2 separate regions of the Homo sapiens genome follow, and region 1 is linked to region 2. The links are contacts of gene promoters, found by promoter capture Hi-C in blood cells and fetal thymus (Javierre and others, 2016). All regions are on one chromosome and are shown on one strand. The core of a region is centred on a gene start or on the middle of the fragment in contact, and the rest is flanking DNA. Distances in the headings are between cores, read along the strand shown.

Region 1 (5,746 bases), core at 156-2,655, 980 kb before region 2:
CAAGGGCTTCCTGGGCTTCTCTTCTGCCCCAGAGCTTGTCTCCACCCAGCAGGGGTTCCCCCAGCGCTAACTGTATCCCTAAAGTTCTGATGTACTTTACTTTTCCATCTTCCTTGTTGTTAACATCTACCTTCTGCTCTGTAAGCAAAACTAAATCTTCTGTGCTTTGTCCATAGGTTGATTCTACAATCTGAAAATCAATAAACAGCATTTGCATGATTGTGGCTGTGTAGGTGTGTTTCCCCACAGGGCCCAGCGCAATGCTTCCACTGCATTGCTTTCTCTGTGGTTCCAATTTCGTGACCCCTGGGACACCAGAATGAGGATATTTCTGGCATCTGGAGTGATAATGTACATTTTAACATGGCAGTGTTTTATGTTTTTCTTCTCTTCTCCTCTTCCTTTTTTCTTTTTCATTTTTTTTTTGAGATGGAGTCTCACTCTGTTGCCCAGGCTGGAATGCACTGGCTTGATCTCGGCTCACTGCAACCTCCAACCTCCACCTCCCAGGTTCAAGCAATTCTCGTGCCTCAGCCTCCTGAGTAGCTGGGATTACAGGTGTGTGCCACTGTGCCTGGCTAATTTTTTGTATTTTTAGTAGAGACGGGGTTTCACCATGTTGGCCAGCTGCTCTCGAACTCCTGACCTCTGGTGATCTGCCCACCTCGGCCTCCCAAAGTGTTGGGATTACAGGCGTGAGCCACCGCGCCCGGCCTCTTCTTCCTTTTTTCTTGCAGTACTAGAAGGTTTGATGTGTAAGCCTTCCCACCCTTGAAGAAAAGGGGTTTCAATTTTTGGATGATTAGGCTCAGTAGTCCAGTGGGCCATAGTATGAAGGAACCACGTGAGAGAGGAGATTTTAGAAGAGGTCAGAGGAAGGGGATGTTATGGCCTGCAGAGGGAGCAAGGCAGGTGTGTCCTGAGGCCAAAGCGAGTGCCTCGAACTGCAGAAGGTGGAACAGGGAGGGAGGCTGGGGCCAGAGAGCCAAGGGGACCTTCACTGCTGCCTCCTGGCAGCGCTGCCTACGGGGAAAGGCCTGGATGTTGTCTGGGCAGCCAGAGTCGAGTGTGGCTCAGAAACAGATGAGGGGCCTGGCAAGGGGCATTACTTCGGGGCCAGGGACTGTGGCTCGCAGACTTCCCAGTCTCCTTTGCCCTGTCCATTGTCTGAATGTAGCTATCCTACCAGCTACCCTTTCTTTTGGGGACAACGAGCAGCGAGGGTGCCCCCCTCATTTGTGGTGAGAACGTGGCCTGTGGGCTCCCTGGCTGGACAGAGGCCCGAATGCAGCCTATGCTCGGGCTTGGTCCTGTCCGGCTCATCCCGTGTGGACAGCTCCCCTTCTGATGCCTCTGGATGTCTGAAAACAGGAAAAAGGGGATAGGGACCAGGAAGCCCATAGCATGTGGTGGAGATACCCTGGAGAGAGGGTGCACAGGGACCCTTGTCCTATTGTTACAATCCTCTGAAGGCAGAGGCTGGGCCAGTAGAACCACTGTTCAGAAACTGCCGCATCCCACACCCCATCTTCCTAGTGCAGAGGAGGCGGGAGGCAGACATGGGGAGAGATGCAGGCAGCCTCCCATCCAGGGCTCTGGTTGCTGCATGGGCTTCCTTCTGCTCCCTGAAAACCAACCTAAAGGAAGGGCGTGGCTGGTCAGGTCTGGGCGGGCAGTTGCAATAGTTTGCAGGGCCTCTCTTCCAAGGGCTTCTTTCCCGGAGATCCAGCCGGAAGGCTTTGTTTTCAAGTTGCCAGCAGGTGGCAGCAGAGACCAAGCAGACGGGTCCCCAGGGTAGGAGATGGCCGCTTTGGGCTCCGGATGTGGCGGTTCTCCATCAGCCCTGACCATCCCTGACGCTGCAGGTCACAAGGTCAGGCAAGCTGATGACAGGAAAGGAGGCATTTAGAACTATGGAATGAGGCTGCCAGCAAACTAGGTCCTTGGAGGCAACTCAGTCCCAACCCCTTGTACAGATGGGGAAACTGAGGCTTAGAGAGGGGCAGTAGCTCCAGGATTAGCATCAGGTTTCCAGGAGTCTGGGCTGGGGCTTTCTTTTCTTTTCTTTTCTTTTCTTTTCTTTTCTTTTCTTTTCTTTTCTTTTTTTTCTTTTCTTTTCTTTTCTATACTGTGCTGCCTCCTTCACTGGATGCTTCGTATGTGGGTATGATGCATTTTTTTTTAAAAAAGGAGAGAATGTGAAACTTCTATCAGGCAGCAACCTGCGGCAATGCCAATAGCCTTTGTTTGGGAGCAGTTGGAAGGGTCAGCACGAAACGACCTTGTGTGGGTTTTGAAGCCCCCTTTGGCCTGGCACGTCCTCAGGAATCATTACTAGTTAACCAAACCAAGGCATTTGCTCCCAGGCAGGAGCCACCATACTGACCTCTGGAGTTGACAGACACCCTGAGACCAGGGAGTCCTTTGGGTCAGCAGTAAGGGGCTGAGTGGCCCGAGGGACACCCCCTTCCTCGGGTATTGTGCAGGGGCAATAGTTTCCCATGGTGGATGCAGCAAATTACCACAAACTTAATGGCTTAAAACAACACACACGTATTCTCTTATAGTTCCAGAGGTCAGGGATTCTAAAACGGGTTGGCAGGCAGGGCTGTGTTCTTTCCAGAGGCCGGAGGAGAGAGTCCATTTTCTTTCCTGCCTATTTCAGCTTTTAGAGGCTGCCTGTATTCCTTGCCTTGTGGCCCCTTCAAAGGCAGCAATGGAGCATCTTCCACTCTGCGTCCCTCTGCTTCCGTCACCATGAGGCTTCTGCGGGTCCCTGACCCTCCTGTCTCCCTCTTATAAGGACCCTTGTGCTTACATTGCCCCCACCTGCCAGGTAATCCAGGCTCACCTCCCCACCTCAAGGCCCTTAATGTAATAATCACAGCTGCAAAATTCCTTTGCCTTAGAAAGTAACCTGCTGGGCGCGGTGGCTCACGCCTGTAATCCCAGCACTTTGGGAGGCTTAGGTGGGTGGATCTCTTGAGGTCAGGAAATCGAGACCAGCCTGACCAACATGGTGAAACCCTGTCTCTACTAAAAATACAAAAATTAGCTGGGGGTGGTGGCACGTGCCTGTAAATCCAGCTACTGGGGAGGCTGAGGCAGGAGAATTGCTTGAACCCGGGAGGCGGAGGTTGCAGTGAGTCGAGATTGTGCCATTGCACTCCAGCCTGGGTGAAGAAGCAAGACTCCGTCTCAAAAAAAAAAAAAAAAAAGTAACCTATCCACAGGCTCTGGGGATTCAAATGTGGGCATCTTTCAGGGGGTTCATTATACTGCCGCTTAGTCTCTGTGGGTCTCCGATCTGTCCTCTGCCTCGCTGGTGGGTGCCCTAGAGGCTCAGCCTACATATGTCCCGGCTCCCGTGCCCTCTGCCTTCCCGTTGGGTTTGGCCGGCAGGAGGCAGCAGCAGGAGACCTGCTTGCGGGAGGAGGGCACTGGGCTGTTTGCTTTTCTGATTCCCTCCTCGCTGGGCTGCAGTCTGGCAGGGGTTGCGCTCTTTACCTGTGGTCACAGCAGGTGTCCCCGGCCACGGCTCTCACTGGTCTCCAAGCAGTGCCTCCCCAGGTCCTGCAGCCTCAGCACAGCAATGGCTTCCCACCCCTGCTCGTTCTTGCTAGCTCCCCCCATTCCTTACTGGCTTCTCAATCCCTCCCGCATCTTCATTCTGCTTCTGTGGCTACTCTGTTTGCATAAGCCACCTGTTGGCTGCCAAGACCCTGCCTGAGCAGGTATCACATCTCCACCAGGATGCAGGGAGCAGAGGAGAGCCGAGGAGGCTGAGAACACACACAGTGTCTCCAGCTCCTCAGGGGTGTGGGCAGAATTTGAACTTAAGCCCAGATGCCACAAATGGGTATTAGAGCTGGCATTTTCCAGCCCCTGGGACACGGCTGCCTCCCACAGCCTCAGTTGATGCCCTCCATGGCAGGGCCACCTGCTGGGAGAAGGTCTAACCAGAAGTGACATCTAAGGGCCTGGCCTGCATCTGGAGTTGCAAACGTGGCAAAGGAATACAGCACAGGTGCAGGTGTTGCTTGTCCTGGGGCCAAGGCGCCTCCCTGTCTGTGAGAAATGGCCAGGCAACCTCAGTCAGATTTTTTTTTTCTTTTTTAAAAAATTTTACTTTAAATTCTGGGATACATGTGCAGAATGTGCAGGTTTGTTACACAGGTATACATTACATGTGCCGTGGTAGTTTGCTGCTCCTATCAACCTGTCATTTAGGTTTTAAGGCCCGCATGCATTAGGTATTTCTCCTAATGCTCTCCCACCCCTTTCCCCCCATCCCCTGACAGGCCCTGATATGTGATGTTCCCCTCCCTGTGTCCATGTATTCTCATTTTACTTTCTCTCTTTCTTTTTTATTTTTTTGGAAACGGAGTCTCACTCTGTTGCCAGGCGGGAGTGCAGTGGCGTAATCCCGGCTCACTGCAACCTCCGCCTCCCGGGTTCAAGTGATTCTCCTGCCTCAGCCTCCTGAGTAGCTGAGATTATAGGCACGTGCCACCATGCCCGGCTAATTTTTATATTTTTAGTAGAGACAGGGTTTCACCATGTTGGCCAGGATGGTCTTGATCTCTTGATCTTGTGATCCACCCGCCTTGGCCTCCCAAAGCGCTGGGATTACAAGTGTGAGCCACCACGCCCAGCCCATGTATTCTCATTTTTCAACTCCCACTTATAAGTGAGAACATTCAGTGTTTGGTTTTCTGTTCCTGTGTTAGTTTGCTGAGAATGATGTTTTCCAGCTTCATTCATGTCCCTGCGAAGGATATGAACTCATTTTTTATGGCTGCATAGTATTCCATGGTGTGTATGTGCCACATTTCCTTCATCTAGTCTAGATGGGCATTTGGGCCGGCTCCAAGTCTTTGCTATTGTAAATAGTGCTGCAATAAACCTAAGTGTGCATGTGTCTTTATAGTAGAGTGATTGATAATCCTTTGGGTATATACCCAGTAATGGGATTGCTGGGTCATCAGTCATATTTAACTTAGCAAACAGTTCAACTTTCACCAGTGTGGCTCTGCAGGAGGCTTGGTGCAAGCCCTGGGAAGTAACAGCAGCACCTCTTTGTGAGTGCCACCTCCCCACCTCAAGTGGTCATCATTGGCTCCATTTGGCAAAGGAGTCTCAGCTTAGGGAGGAATATGGGCTGCCTGGCTCACAGCTGCAAGTGGCTGAGCCCAGAGTTGATGCACATGAGTTGGATGCAAGCTTGGGATCCTTCCACCTGTAGATCACCAATAAGTGATGAGATTGAAGATGACTTGAACTAACTAGATCGGAGCATGGCGCTCTAGTTAGATCTAGTTTTTCTTACAGGGGGTTGGGGGGAACTCAAGGAAACCCTTTCCTCAGGGCTTTATTTTTTTTAAATTTTATTTTATTATTATTATTTTTTGAGATGGAGTTTCGCTCTTGTTGCCCAGGCTGGAGTGCAATGGTGCCGTCTTGGCTCACTGCAACCTCCGCCTCCCGGGTTCAAGCGATTCTCCTGCCTCAGCCTCCAGAGTAGCTGGGATTACAGGCATGCACCACCACGCCCGGCTAACTTTGTATTTTTAGTAGAGATGGGGTTTCTCCATGCTGGTCAGGCTGGTCTTGAACACCTGACCTTAGATGATCCACCTACCTCGGCTTCCCAAAGTGCTGGGATTACAGGCATGAGCTACCACGCCTGGCCAGGGCTTTATTTTTCACCATGGTAAATTTACTAATGAAGACCTGAGCAAAATGT
Region 2 (5,598 bases), core at 1,990-4,489:
CTTTCTGAAAAGTTTTCCAGTTTTTGTTTTTTGTTTTTTGTTTTCCAGTAGGGGATTAGAATGTTTAGTCCTACTTAGTAAGAAAAATATTGTATTTTTAATCATTCATAGTGCTGGTAAAAAAAAAAAAAAAAAAAAAAAAATTGGGGGGTGGCCGGGCGCAGTGGCTCACACCTGTAATCCCAGCACTTTGGGAGGCCAAGGCGGGCGGATCACCTCATGCCTGTAATCCCAGCATTGGGATGGGAGGCTGAGGTGGGTGGATTGCTTGAGAAGTTCAAGACCAGCCTGGCCAACATGGCAAAACCCCGTCTCTACTAAAAATAGAAAACTTAGCTGGGCATGGTGGCACACGCCTGTAATCCCAGCTACCGGGGAGGCTGAGGCACAAGAATTGCTTGAACTTGGGAGGCAGAGTTTGTAGTGAGCCAAGATCACGCCACTGCATTCCAGCCTGGCCGACAGTGTGAGACGGTCTCAGAAAAAAAAAGAAAGAAAGAAAGAAAAAGAAAAAACTTGGGGTAATTTATGTCCAGCTTAAGTACCTGAACAGTTTCCGGAAATGTATATTTTTTTTCTGAGAGGCAAAGGATGTAAACAGCTTCTAAGTAGCTTTAATGTTTCTGTACAGAAATAAGTTTATCCCTGTAACATTGTGGTAGAGTTTTAATACAGTATTTAGTTTTTTATTGGGCTTTTTTAAAAAGTTAACTTTTAACATAGCTGCTCAGGGATTAAATCAGATTGGAAAACCCATTCTGACTCCACATACTGCTACAAAGAAATACATCGTTGTTTATATTGAGCTGCAGGAGATAGTACACTTTAAACTTAAGAAAGTTAAATGTTTCACAATAACATTGCAATATAATCTTCAGCTACTCTCTTTCCATTGGTAAAATCTCTGATGGTGTGATAACTCTTTGCCAACCTACGAAACCCATATCTGGAAGAATCACCAGCTCCCGTGAGCAGCTTCATGTAAATAGATGCACTCCAAGCAGATTGCATGCCTCAGGTGTTTGTCTTCTAGTAATCATGGAGTGTGCAACACCCAGAGTAACACTACAAGGGGCAGGACTGCAAACAGCAGGTCCTGGCTAAAAACCCTTAATGCTGCATTGCTGCCAGTTGTAAAGAGATGCCTGAATGGAGGCAAGTTCTGCCCTGTGGGTGAAACTGATGATGTACTGTACTGTCATATATAAATCCACTAAATCCAGCTACCAGGAACTGCCTGGAACTGTGGCCATGCATTTTTTTTTTTCTTTAAAGACCAGTGTGATAGTAGGCCATGCATCTGAGATACGATATTCCTTGGTAACTAGAGGGAGAAAAAAAAATCAAGTAGGTTCAGGCTTATGTTGTATTTTGAGAGTCTGGTTTTATTTGAACAGAAATAACTCTACAGAAAGCTCTTGTAAATAATGCTCAAATTTGCACCCGACGATCAAATCCATTAAAAATGAATCTTGTATATGATGTGTGTGGCTTGTTTCTTGCATCTCTTTTCCATTATTCATAGAAAATTATTTAGAAAATATTAAGTGTTAGTCTTACCATGAGTTAGTAAGACATACCTTCTTAGTAGCTTATATGTCCTGTATATCCTGGGAAGGTAGGATTGTTGATTTTTAATAAATCTGAACCCTGTCTTTGGGTTATATTAATTTACTGGAGAAACTCACAGAACTCAGGGAAACACATTTACCGGTTTCATACAAAAGATATGACCAAGGATACAGATAAGGAGATGAGCAGGGTGGGGAATGGGGAAGAAGCTCCCAGCCTCCATGCCGTCCCTGGACCACCACCCTCCAGGAACCTCCATGTATTTAGCTATCAGAGGCTCTCCAAACCCTGTCCTCGGGTTTTTATGGAAGCCTCTGGACTTATCTAAATGATATAAGCTGGCTTCTTGTCCCCAGAAAAATGATGTTCCATTAGAACTTGGATGCAAGGTTGGAGGTGCAGAGAGGGAAGGTCACAAAAATTAATCATGGATCCTGCCCTTGAGGATGTCACAGTCTGGTTGGGTTTAACCTGGTTAAAGCAGCAACGCTAGGAGGTTCCTGTTGAAAAGAGAATGAAGCATATGGGCTGGGTGCGCACAAGCATGAGTTCCGAGCCGGTGGAAAAAAAGGTTCTAGAAGGCCTCTTTCAGGAAAACCCTCAGACTTTCCTTTGCTCTCACAACACAACAATCAACACAGAAGACTTATGTGGCCAAAGGTTTGGGTTTTTCCCCTCCACACTAAGCAGCAGACACCAGCTGGGTGTCCTCCAATTCAATCCCAACAGTATCTACCTGGAGATAGTGTCAGATCCCATAGGTTGAGGGCTCAGTCCCCAAGACCGCCCCCACCTTCAGACAGCAATGGCAAGTCTGGGCCTCTGAAACTTCCGACCAACCCGCTTCAAGTTGGGGTTCCCACGACCCCCCTCTTTGGATTATGTTAACTCACTGGAGCAGTTCACAGAACTCAGGGAAACACATTCACCGGTTTCATATAAAGGATATGACCAAGGATACAGATGAGATGAGCAGGGTGGGGAATGGGGAAGAAGCTCCGAGGTTCCTTGCCTACCCTGGGCCACCACCCTCCAGGAACCTCTACGTATTCAGCTGTCAGAGGCTCTGCAAACCCTCTCCTCTTGGGTTTTTATGGAAGCTTCTGGACATCAGCATCCCTTCCCCCAGGGTATATGGTGGGACCTTCTCTGGGAAGGGACTTAAGACCCATAATCAGAAATGTGGAAGGAGATTAGAGTCCTGCTTTGGGGCAGGTAAAAGGAGGGCAGGAGAAGGGGAGAGTCTGTTTCCTGAGGCCTAACACACCCAACATTATCACAGAACATTGTAACAAGGGCTATAGGAGTTACGACCCAGGAACTGTGGATGAAAACCAATACATATATATATCATAACACCACAGCCTCCTAGAGGAAAGTGACCGTGGAAGGGTCTGGTGAGAGCTGGCGGGAGACAAGAGTGCATTCCACGCAGCCCAAAAGCCTTGCGTGCTTTGAGAACAGCAGGTGGAAAGTGGGTAAGCGGCCACTAGAGGGAATTAAACAGCTTCGGACAGCGGACTCGGCAGCGCAGCAAGAAAGCTCCGGAATCCGGATTCGAGGCTTCCCGGGCTGCACCGGAGTCTCCAGCAGAGGGCGCGATTCCGCCCGCTGGCCTTAGGTCGTCAGAGCGCCGGCGCGGGAAGCGCTTCCGGGCAGGGGCGGGGCTTCCGGCGGCGCCTCAGGTCGCGGGGCGCCTAGGCCTGGGTTGTCCTTTGCATCTGCACGTGTTCGCAGTCGTTTCCGCGATGCTGCCTCTGCTGCGCTGCGTGCCCCGTGTGCTGGGCTCCTCCGTCGCCGGCCTCCGCGCTGCCGCGCCCGCCTCGCCTTTCCGGCAGCTCCTGCAGCCGGCACCCCGGCTGTGCACCCGGCCCTTCGGGCTGCTCAGCGTGCGCGCAGGTTCCGAGCGGCGGCCGGGCCTCCTGCGGCCTCGCGGACCCTGCGCCTGTGGCTGTGGCTGCGGCTCGCTGCACACCGACGGTGAGGTTTAGCGGGCCGGGGGTGTGGTTTGCGTTCAACAGAGGGAAAACGTAGACCAGGAATAGGGCCTGCAACCGACCTCTGAGGTCTGGGACATTTTTCCATTGATTGGCAACCAGCGGGCTAAACCCACGTATGATCATATTTCCCCCACCTCCCCTATCCAGCAGTTTCGTTTTCTTTTGGTAGGGGGTGAATAAAATTAAATACTAGGGTACCTTTTTCCTTAGTCTTATTCTATCGAAAGTGGACCTTTGGGAAGGCCCATGGTCGTGGTTGAAAATAGCATAGTTATATCGTTTGGCAAGTGGAAGAGGATTGGAAATTCTCCTGGTTTATAGCGGAAAGTGGTAATGCGTTCATTGTTGGAAATCACTTTTCCAGAATCAGGCTCAGCTTCCTACTACTATTATGGTATTTTTACCGATAAGGAAACAGGCTTCTAGAGTAACCGTAATAGCAGAGAGATTAGAAACAGTCCAGGTTTCTGGCTGCAATAACCTGGGTAATAGTTTTATGTTTTAGACTAACTGGCTTTCCTTTTTATGTATCTGGATTTCTTTTCTAGGAGACAAAGCTTTTGTTGATTTCCTGAGTGATGAAATTAAGGAGGAAAGAAAAATTCAGAAGCATAAAACCCTCCCTAAGATGTCTGGAGGTTGGGAGCTGGAACTGAATGGGACAGAAGCGAAATTAGTGCGGAAAGTTGCCGGGGAAAAGTAAGTACTGGTCTGGGGATCCCAGGGCAGCAACTCCCTTAACCTTGCAGGACCCATCCTGGGTCATCCCCAGAAGAGCCTTGAGTTCAGGTGTGGATACTTTGATAAATGGGTTTCAAGAGAGTGAAGGATTCATTTGGACAACTTCGTAAGCCCCAGGCAGTCCATTCACCGAACACAAATTTGCTGTGGGCTGGTTACTAAGGAGACAAAAATGTAGTGCAAAAAAGTACTGGCAGAATCAGTTTGATCTCTGATTTACAGCCCTGATAAAATAGGACACTGCTCTCTAATGTTTAGTATGGGTGAAAATGAAAAATATGTAACTTCTATGTAACAGGATGGGGTTACACTGTAGTAAGGGCTGCCATCAGAGGTGGGGAGTTTGTGACCTAAGTCAGCTCCCCCATCATCTCCTAAACTGTTAAAGTGTTTACACTTTTCTGCATTATAGTCATCCATAATCTCATTACACAGATAAACATTTGGCATCTTCCAGGTTTTTAAATTGAGCCTGGGCGCGGTGGCTCACACCCATAATCCCAGCACTTTGGGACGGGCAGATCATGAGGTCAGGAGAAAATCCTGGCTAACACTAAAACCCTGGCTCTAGTAAAAATTAACCGGGTATGGTGGCACGTGCCTGTAGTCCCAGCTACTCGGGAGGCTGAGGCAGGGGAATCGCTTGAACCTGGGAGGTGGAGGTTGCAGTGAGTCGAGATCGCGCCACCGCGCTCCAGCCTGGGCAACAGAGCAAGACGCCATCTCAATAATAAATAAATAAATTGAATTTCCTTCATAATTGACCTTATGATGTGTATGTAATTTTTTTAAATCACAGCTTTTATGAGATTTAATTGAGATGGCATACGATTTACCCATTTATTGAAGTTTATTAAATTAAGTGGTTCTTAGTCCTCGCAGAATTATGCATCAGTTATCACTACCTAATTCTAGAACACTGTTGTCATCCCCAAACAATACCTATTAGCAGTCACTCATTATTCCTCCCTGTAGCCACCCCAGGTAATCACTAAGCTACTTTCTCTATGGGATTGCCTCTTTTGGACATTTCATATAAATGGAGTCATACAATTTGTAGCTTCCCCCCCCAACCCCACGGAGTCTTGCTCTGTCACCCAGGATGGAGTGCAGTGGTGCGATCTTGGCTCACTGCAACCTCTGCCTCCCAGGTTCTGACAATTCTCCTGCCTCAGCCTCCTTAGCTGGGATTACAGGCGTGCGTCCGGTTAATTTTTGTATTTTTAGTAGAGACAGGGTTTCACCGTGTTGGCCAGGCTGGTCTCAAAGTCCTGACCTCGTGATC

Evidence for each region. Contacts are between HindIII fragments. The CHiCAGO score rates a contact against its expected background, and 5 or more counts as called.
Region 1: a contact is called between a fragment that was not itself captured here and the fragment with the promoter of C1QBP in region 2, in 4 of 17 cell types (M2 macrophages, M0 macrophages, endothelial precursors and 1 more). The highest score is 6.0, in M2 macrophages.

Annotation. Positions count from the first base shown.
Region 1 is chr17:6,418,212-6,423,957 of GRCh38, reverse strand. It overlaps AIPL1 (AIP like 1 HSP90 co-chaperone), which reads left to right. Exons shown (of 6, transcript NM_014336.5): 6 at 1-220. Among named protein-coding and RNA genes, the nearest start is that of AIPL1, 14 kb to the left of the region's middle. The HindIII fragment of the contact is 7,641 bases long and covers 1-5,225 here.
Region 2 is chr17:5,436,796-5,442,393 of GRCh38, reverse strand. It overlaps C1QBP (complement C1q binding protein), which reads left to right and starts at 3,239. Exons shown (of 6, transcript NM_001212.4): 1 at 3,239-3,552; 2 at 4,121-4,271. The coding sequence starts at 3,321. It overlaps DHX33 (DEAH-box helicase 33), which reads left to right. Exons shown (of 12, transcript NM_020162.4): 12 at 1-1,477. RefSeq lists an enhancer at 2,843-3,022 and silencers at 3,082-3,264, 3,243-3,412, 3,523-3,572. The HindIII fragment of the contact is 1,457 bases long and covers 2,675-4,131 here.